Regions from separate parts of the Homo sapiens genome. Here regions 2 and 3 are each linked to region 1. The links are contacts of gene promoters, found by promoter capture Hi-C in blood cells and fetal thymus (Javierre and others, 2016). All regions are on one chromosome and are shown on one strand. Each heading gives the region's core, a stretch centred on a gene start or on the middle of the fragment in contact. The rest is flanking DNA. Distances are from core to core; before and after follow the strand shown. Region 1 holds the start of ZNF746 (zinc finger protein 746). Region 2 overlaps ZNF783 (zinc finger protein 783). Region 3 has its middle 13 kb from the start of TRC-GCA1-1.

Region 1 (2,856 bases), core at 174-2,673:
GCGTGCCACCACGCCTCGCTAATTTTTTCTATTTTTAGTAGAGACGGGGTTTTGTCATGTTGCTCAGGCTGGTATCAAACTCCTGAGCTCAGGCAATCCACCCATCTTGGCCTCCCAAAGTGTTAGAATTACGGGCGTGAGCCACTGCGCCCGGCCCTAAAATGCTTTATATCTTCCTACATCAATTTTTTTTTGGGCTGTCATCCAGCTCACACCTCTACTACCACCCTCTGGTCTGAAATGCTCTCTGCCTATCAATATTTTGCCAATTCTTCAAGATCCAGCTCAAATTTTATCTATTCTGTAAGGTCTGCCTTCTTTGAAAAAGATTACAGATCTCTCACATATTTTCTTATCAGTGTGTGCTAGGCAGTTGGCTAGTTAGTCTTGGGGAATACACAGATGAGCAAGTCGTGTTCCTGAAAGGCAATGAGCCTCTGAAACTACGTGGGGGCCCGTCCAAGGCGCCCTCCTTCCCCTGCTCTGGTTGGCCTCTTTGAGAACATTTAAATTTTTATTTTTCTCTCCTTGTTTAAAAATACTATCCTTGTCATGGAAAAATAAAAACATGAATTGGAAAAAATTAGAAAAGGCATAAAAACGGCCCGTGGTCTATTAAAGGAATAGACCTTTAATAGAACTACTGAGGCCATGTTGATATATATGCTTCCAAACTTTTCAAAACTGTAATTATACATGTACGCAGTATATGACGCTACATATGTCCTATATTGTTTTAAAATGTTATTTTTAAAACAAAGACAGGATCGTCCTGGACAGGCTTTTTCTCTTAAAACATCATGAACATCTGTTCCTACCAAGACCTTCACCGAAATCATTTTAAATGATGGTATTGCGTCCCATTGCTCATGCCATTAAAAAAATTTACTGTAATAAACCCATTACAGAAAATGCTAAGTGGTTGCCTACCGGGGTTTACCGAACTATATTCCTGTTGTTGGAAGTATTTATTCCATTTCAAACACAGGTGGGCATGAGTTACATCTGTCCTCCCCAAAATAGCCTAAACCTCCAGACCCAGGACCTCGGGCAGCAGAAGTGCCCGTGGGGCGGGGGAAGGGGAGCCGGGCATCCCAGGGCGAGGGGGCCGCCCTGGCCGCGGTCACCCGGGGGACGCCCTGCCCGGAAGCCCGTGCTCGCCCGCGGGCGCGGCCAGGCGGGTCCCATGAGGGGGACCCTTTCAATAACCGAGTCCTCGGGCTGGGCCGCGGGGCCAGCGCAGTGACTCCCCCCGCGCTCGGCAGTCCGGCCGGGGTCGCGGGGTCGCGGGGTCGCGGGGTCGGCCCGGGGTCGCTAGGTCCTCCCGTCGGGCCCCGCGGGCGGGGCTGGGCGGGGCGGGGCGGGGCCGCGGGCAGGCGGGCGCAGCGCCTGCCGTTCGCCTCTCAGGCTGCAGGTGGGGCTGTGCGGCCGCGCTGCCTCCAGGAAGCCTCACGGGCCTTCGTCTGCCGGGCCGCGGCGCCGGCTCCCAGGATGCAGTGTGGACCGGCCGGGCGCTGACGGAGGCGGCGCGACTGCGGGCGGCGCGGCGCAGGGGCAGCCAGCGAGGAGCGGCGGCAGAGGAAAGGCCAGGCAGGCGCCGCCTGCGGAGAGCACCGGGCGGCCGGGCCTGCGTGGTGCCGCGCGCGGCGGCGGCGACGACGACTTCCTCCGGGCCGGGCGGGACAGCGCAGGGCCATGGCCGAGGCGGTCGCGGCTCCGGTAAGGGCGACCCGCGCGCGCAGGGACTCGCGGCCTGGGGGCCCCAGGCGGCCCGGCCCCGGCACACGGCGCCGCAGGCCCTGGGGAGGGGTTCCGGGGTCCGGGCCGGACCACCGGGCCTGGGGCTCCCGCGAATGGGGCGCGGGGTCCGCCGGGGCCTACTGCGCCCGTCGGCCGGGCCCCCACTCCGAGCCGAACCCGAGCGCTGGCGGAACGGTTGTCCCCGCCCCGGGCCGCCCCACGCCAAGTTCTTTGGGCCCTCCGGGGCTTCCTGCCCCCGCCCCAGCCGCTGTCCCCTCCTTCTGGGTGCCCCCCCACCCGCGGCTCCTTTCTCTGCCTGGCGCTCGGCCTGTAGGTCCCTCTCCATCTCCCCCGCAGCGGCCTGGTGGCACCTGGGAGGTGTCCGGCTTCGAATCCGCATACACCGACTCCCACTACGTGCCCAGCTTCCCGGGGTCGGCGCGGAAGGGAATATAGAGCCACGCACTTCCACAAGCCCTGTTGAGGCGTTAGTCTGTCCTCACAGCAAGCCTGTGGGATGGGTACTGGTGTTAATCTCTGTCATACAAAAGAAAAACCCGGGGCCTAGAGAACTTAACTTGCCCAGGCTTACCCAGCTGGAAAGTGTGAAAAGACACACAGTGGCTGTGTGTTCAAGGACCAGGCAGGCAGGTACGCGGGCAATAATCGTGCAAAACAGAAAGGGGTGAGTGCTGGCGCCCAGGTGGAAGCTTGCGGTGGGCTCCGGGGGAAGGAGTGTCAGGGGGCCTCTTGGTACCGCTGTCCACCCCTCCTGGCCTGATGCTCTGCGCCTCTGTGATTTGAGCCGGGCTTTTAGGGAAGGCTAGGATTTCAGGCCCAGCTAGACCGGTGGTGCTTTCAGGGAGGGAGGAGTGCCTGGGCAAAGGCGCAGAGAGACGGGACAGTGCAGGGCGTGTGCAGGCACAGAAAGGAGTCCATGAGCCTGGAGAAGATGGTTTTGGTTTGGAGGCAGTGGGAAAGGAGTCTGCAGAGAGAGACTAAGAAGGGGTTTGCATGCCTGGACTTCATCCTGCGGGTGGGCAGTGGATGAGGGATCCGGCTCCTCTTACCATCAGCTCCTCTCAAGCAAAGAGTTTCAGCTCCCCTGGCAGGAGT
Region 2 (2,856 bases), core at 100-2,599, 230 kb after region 1:
GACAACTAGGGAAAACAAAACAAAGGCTAGGTATTAGATGGTATTAGATGATATTCTGATATTCTGTGGGTGTGATCATGGTATGTGGTCATTGTTCAGGAAAAGGGTAAAAACAGATGGATGAAGCGCATGTGGCAAAACCCAGCAGAGTGTTGAGTTTTGGTGACGATCATTTGGAGATTCGCTGTGCTATTCTACTTTATTAAAATTTAATTGAAAAAATAAAGCTCCCCAGAGGATTGTGATGTGCAGTCCCCTTTGGAACCACTGTCCTATATACCAGCTACAAGGACAGGGCATGCCTGGCCCTCCTACCAAGGGCCATGTACACAAATGGAAGCCAGCACGTGACATGCCTTCCTGCCACAGGCTGGGGTTGTGGGACTGCAATAGGGGACACAAGCAATAGCGGGGACATGGACACACGTGAAGATGCCAGGAGGCAGCAGTGCTGCTGGTGGAGGTATTACTAAGTCCCCATTATTTTTTTTTTTAGATGAAGTCTTGCTCCGTCACCCAGGCTGGAGTGCAGTGGCGCAATCTCGGCTCATTGCAAACTCCGCCTCCCGGGTTCACGCCATTCTCCTGCCTCAGCCTCCCGAGTAGCTGGGACTACAGGCGCCTGCCACCACGCCCGGCTAATTTTTTGTATTTTTACTAGAGAAGGGGTTTCACTATGTTAACCAGGATGGTCTCGATCTCCTGACCTCATGATCCGCCCGCCTCAGCCTCCCAAAGTGCTGGGATTACAGGCGTGAGCCACCGCGCCAGGCCAGTCTCCACTATTATAAAGTGATCAGTATGTACATGCTTAACACTTATCACTCAGTCATCACAACCACGTAAGGTGAGTGTGATGTTCCACCTTAGACAGATATAGAAACCCTATGGCTCAAGCCAGCCACCCACTCCTGCCCAGGGTGGCCTTGTACAGAGTGGTCCCACTTTGGGTTAATGGTCTATGCTCCCTTCCTGCCCTCCCTGATTGTCTGGGAAGCCCGAGAGGGTAGGCGATGGTGCAGCTAGCCCCTGGCGGCCCCCCAACCACATCTGGCTCCTATACTTACCAGTGCCCATCATCCTTGGACGTCCCACCTCTACTTCATTCCCCTTCTCCTGGCCCCACCGGTCAAGACAAGGCTCCTCTCCCCTCTCTATCCGGGTGAGGATGTCTGGTTTGGAGATTGCATAATCTGTGCACAGAACAAGAAATGAGGAAGAGCTGGACCCCACATGCCCACAGAGATGCAGAGATGCCCAAAGTACCAAAAGCCAAAGCAAAGACACAGACTGTCCACAGACAACCTGTGGACAGAGGCCCAGATCCTCCCTCCGTGGCCTTACCCAGGGAGACCAGCGTCTCGTAGTTGCCCCTCATCACGTGCTTGTAGAGCTCCTTCTGCCAGTCCTCCAGCTTGCCCCACTCCAGCTCAGAGAAATACACGGCCACATCATCGAAGGTCACGGGCACCTGGAACCATAAGTGTCGCACTCACTCACCCACACGCTCACAGGCTCAGCCCCTCGAGCTCCCCCACCCCAGGGTGTCCCGGTGCTACCTTGGGGGCCTCCCCCTTGCTGCCCGGGGGCAGCCGCAAGATCCAGAAGTTCCTGTTGCGCAGCAAGTTCTCCACATTCTCCAGCCGCCTCTGCAGCAGCCCGTACTCCTGCAGCAAGGTCCCCAGCACGGCCCACTTGCCCTCCAGCTGGTTCCCGAACTCCACAGCTGTCTTCTCGCAGTCGGCCAGCTTCTTCTCGGCTGTCCCCGTGCGCCCCTCCAGAGTCAGCAAGCGGGTCAGGCAGGAATCCACCTTCTTCTCCAAGGCCTGAATGGCGGCCACCACCGTCCACAGTGTGATTTCCGTGGAGTAGAGGTACGAGTTCTTCTCAGCAGCTGGCTGGGGCAAGGGTGTCGAAGGACTCTGGTCCTCTGTGTGCTTGTCTGTCTCGGGGTCCTGCTCACAAGAAGAGAAAAGAGAGATGTTATGAGAATTATACAATCAAAACTTCCACCTCAAAAACACACTTCGGAAATGACACCTGCCATGGTAAAGTCCCATCTGGGCTCCTGAGTTAGCAGCAGACTGGGGGGGAGAGGGAGAGGCTAGGGTATCAGTTAGGAATCCAGCCTAACTGATACAAGAGATAGTGGCTGGACCAACGTGTCAGCAAGTGGGAAAGTGGAAGAAAAACAGCCCCGGCTCCTGTCCTACAGGCTAGCTATGGAGACGGGGCATGCCCCACAGGCTTGAGCAACCACGTGCAGTCTCAAACAAGTGACTCCCCTTCTTGGGTCTCAGTTTCCTCTTCTAAAAATGAAAGGACAAGGCTTTGTGGCACAGAGAACATGACTCCCCAGTGGACAGCCCAGGTGCAACTCAGCTCTGCCACTTACAAGCTGGCCAACTGTGGGCAAGGTGTTTTCAACAGCTTCCAACTTCCCTTCCCTATCTAGAAAATGGAGATAATAATAGTACCTATACAATAGCACTGAGAGAATTAAGAAAAATCTGTGTACAAAGCACTTAGTACAATGTGTAGCACAGCACAGATAATAAACATGAGCCCCATGTTGCAGGGCTAAGATGACACTGACTGCTATGGAATGAATGCTTGTGTCTCCCTCAATATCCATCTGCTGAAGCATTAATCCCCAATATGCCGGTATTTGGAGGTGGAGCTTCTGGGAGGCAATTAGGCCATGAAGGCAGAGCCCTCATAAATAGGATTAGCGCCCTTGTAAGAGGAGACACAAGGGAGATGATCTTGCTGTATGCCACGTGAGGATACAATGAGAAGGCAGCCGTCTGCAAACCAGGAAAAGAGCCCTGCCGGGAACCAAGGCAGCCTGAGCAG
Region 3 (2,856 bases), core at 165-2,664, 200 kb after region 1:
CATGCCTGTAATCCCAACACTTTCAGAGGCCAAGGCAAGCAGATCACAAGGTCAGGAGTTCGAGTGAAACTCGTCTCTACTAAAAATACGAAAATTAGCTTGATATGGTGGCACGTGCCTGTAATCCCAGCTACTCAGGAGGCTGAGGCAGGAGAATTGCTTGAATCCAGGAGGTGGAAGTTGCAGTGAGCTGAGATGGTGCCACAGCACTCTAGCCTGGGCGACAAAGCAAGACTCCGTCTCAGGGGGAAAAAAAAAAAAGAATCATTTGGCTGGGCACAGTGGCTCACTCCTGTAATCCCAGCACTTTGGGAGGATGAGGTGGGCAGACTGTGTGAGCCCAGGAGTTCCAGACCAGCCTGGGCAAGGGCAACATGGTGAAACTCAGTCTCTACAAAAAAAAAAAAAAATTAGCCAGGCATGGTGGCGTGCACCTGTAGTCCCAGCTACTCGAGAGGCTGAAGTGGGAGGATCACCTGAGCCCTGGGATGTCAAGGATAAAGTGAGCCGTGATTGTGCCACTCCACTCCTGTCTCAACAAAGAAATGAATCAGTTGCTCTGACATTGTCAAGAATAGTAACAGTGGCTCACATGTCACCACCTAGTTATCATCCTGCACTGAGAAGAGTCATGGTGAAATTGACACATTTTTTCCTTGCTTAGTGAAGTAGAAAATAAGGGTGTGTCTTACAATCAATGGATCTTAGATTCAATGAAATACTGGAAATGTATTAACAACTATTATTTAAGGCAGGAAGTGGTAAAGATGTGCTGTTAAAATTTGCATTATCAGATCAATGACATTAAAATTGAGAATGGCATCACTTATGAAAACATTTTTATTATTCATTCATTCCACAAACGTAGGGGCTTTCCATGTGCAGGGCACAGTGCTGGACACTGAGGCCTCTGCCCTCCAGTGCTCATCCAGGGCTTGGTCCTCCAAGCCTACCTGGACTCTGCCTTTCTTTGGGACGTTGTCCTGGACTTCAGTCCATCCAGTACTTCTTTCCAGAACTTCAGAATGGAAGCACAGGTGAAAATCACTATATTTCACCACTGATCATGGGAACCTAGAGTGGAATATCATTACTGCATCACAGACAAGATCACAGACAGGGTAAGAAGGGGGAGAGAGGAAATTTACAATTCCTCATAAATAGTTCCTTATTTACAGAGATTGTAAGTGATTATGTAAATCACAGAGCTTCCAATTAAAACCAGCTCAAGCTACAAACATGAAAGTCCAGGGGCAGTGCCAGAGCCACCTCACTTGCCCGAGTGCTGCTCTCCAGGGCTTGCTACCATCTGCTCGTGTGCCCCTTAAAGTGAGGGCAATGGTAGAGACAGCACCGGCCTCTAGTCCTAGGAAGCACACATGCATTCATGTCAAGCACTGGGGGTTGAGTGGGGAGGAGGAGGGGGACAGGGGATTATCTGACAGCTGAGGATCTAGGGGATCCTGGCGGAGTCTGGGTCACAGCTGGAGCCCAGTTGTGGCTGAGATCTCCAGTAGCTGAGGGGGAACTAATGTATCAAAATGGGAGGGTCCCAAACTGGCCGGCCACCATAAGGGCCTGCCTGAAAAGCCCAAGGGACTGGCCTAAATCTTCAGATGGTGGCGGGGCCGCCAGGATCTCAGGGGGGCTTCTCAGCTGCTGGCAGGCCATGTCCAGGTTTCCTACCTCCCTTCTGCTCAACCTTTAGGTGCTTCTGCAACATTTACTGCAGCCCATGCTGCCTGCTGTTGTCTGTGTGTCCTCTGCCAGGTGCCACCATTGATGTCAGATACCCTTCCCAGCCCCACAGCTAGGAACCAGGCCTGTCTTTGTATCCCAGTGGCTGGCACACGTTGGATCCTCAGAAAGCCCCCTTTGCCTGCCTGCTCCAACAATGGCTTGAAGACAAATATTACACCAACTGGGCAGGGCGCTGTGAGGGCCAAGATGGCTGGTCCTGAGCACTGGGCCACAGCCAGCCCAGGCCCTTCCGGGACACATGGCCCACAAAGCTGCCTTTCCCAGGTAATGGGGAGCAAGGGGGAGACAGAAGTCAGGGAAAGTTTCCATGAAATCTTACAACTCACCAAGGCTGTTGGATTCGCATCTGAGGGACGCTTGGGCTCAGCCTATTAAACAGGAGGCTGGGTCTGGCCTGGACTCCGTCCAAGGCCTCCTGCCACCACCGCCCACCCTAGGAAGCACTTTAGAATCTTCACAGTCAGCATCCAGGAAACCAACGGCTATGGCTAAGAGTGAGCACCTTGGATGTCCCTTCAAAGCACTGAGTAATTACGTCTCCTAACTTGGACCTTTGTCTCTGAAAATCACTCGCCTAATAGAACAAGGCAAAGCCAGCCACTCCTGCGCACCCCATCTCCAAGCCCAGGCCTTCCCCTCAGTGAGGCTCAGGTGTTTGGGACTGGCCTCTATCCCAGCCGCCTCCCTGCAACGAGAAGGCCCATGGGCAATCTCAGTGCCTGGGAGAACAGCCCTCCCCCGGGAAGCCAAGACCATGGCCAGAATACTTTGACCTGGCCAAGAAGTGGCCCCCAGGAGAGGTTGCTCAGATTTAAGGGGCACCAACTGCCCCTGGGCCCTCAGAGCCCCTTTAGGGAGCTCTCTGGGTGCTACCCACATTCTCCATCTTCACGCGAGAAAGAGAACTGGGCAAGGGACCCCCACCCAAGACCTTCCTGATCACCACTGCCCCGCTGCCTGTCCCCAGGGCACCTCCTGAGGCCCAGCTCTGTACCAGTGCCCTCAAATCTGAGTGCGGCAGAAGGATTACTAGGGGTGCTCCCCCACACTGCACCCCTGAGGCCCGTGGGCGGCTCATCGGTCGAGGAGTCCCTC

The links. The method cuts DNA at HindIII sites, captures the fragments that hold promoters and counts their contacts. A CHiCAGO score of 5 or more calls a contact.
Region 2: a contact is called between a fragment that was not itself captured here and the fragment with the promoter of ZNF746 in region 1, in 14 of 17 cell types (neutrophils, naive CD4 T cells, total CD8 T cells and 11 more). The highest score is 11.2, in neutrophils.
Region 3: a contact is called between a fragment that was not itself captured here and the fragment with the promoter of ZNF746 in region 1, in 3 of 17 cell types (M2 macrophages, activated CD4 T cells and erythroblasts). The highest score is 6.6, in M2 macrophages.

Annotation. Positions count from the first base shown.
Region 1 is chr7:149,496,376-149,499,231 of GRCh38, reverse strand. ZNF746 (zinc finger protein 746) reads left to right here and starts at 1,423. Exons shown (of 7, transcript NM_001394198.1): 1 at 1,423-1,719. The coding sequence starts at 1,696. RefSeq lists silencers at 1,059-1,728, 1,969-2,028 and an enhancer at 2,162-2,856. The HindIII fragment of the contact is 2,699 bases long and covers 1-2,452 here.
Region 2 is chr7:149,265,434-149,268,289 of GRCh38, reverse strand. ZNF783 (zinc finger protein 783) reads right to left here. Exons shown (of 6, transcript NM_001195220.2): 2 at 1,560-1,955; 3 at 1,345-1,471; 4 at 1,068-1,193. Among named protein-coding and RNA genes, the nearest start is that of ZNF783, 4.7 kb to the right of the region's middle. The HindIII fragment of the contact is 3,269 bases long and covers 1-2,856 here.
Region 3 is chr7:149,295,269-149,298,124 of GRCh38, reverse strand. It overlaps the pseudogene LOC155060. Among named protein-coding and RNA genes, the nearest start is that of TRC-GCA1-1, 13 kb to the left of the region's middle. The HindIII fragment of the contact is 7,615 bases long and covers 1-2,856 here.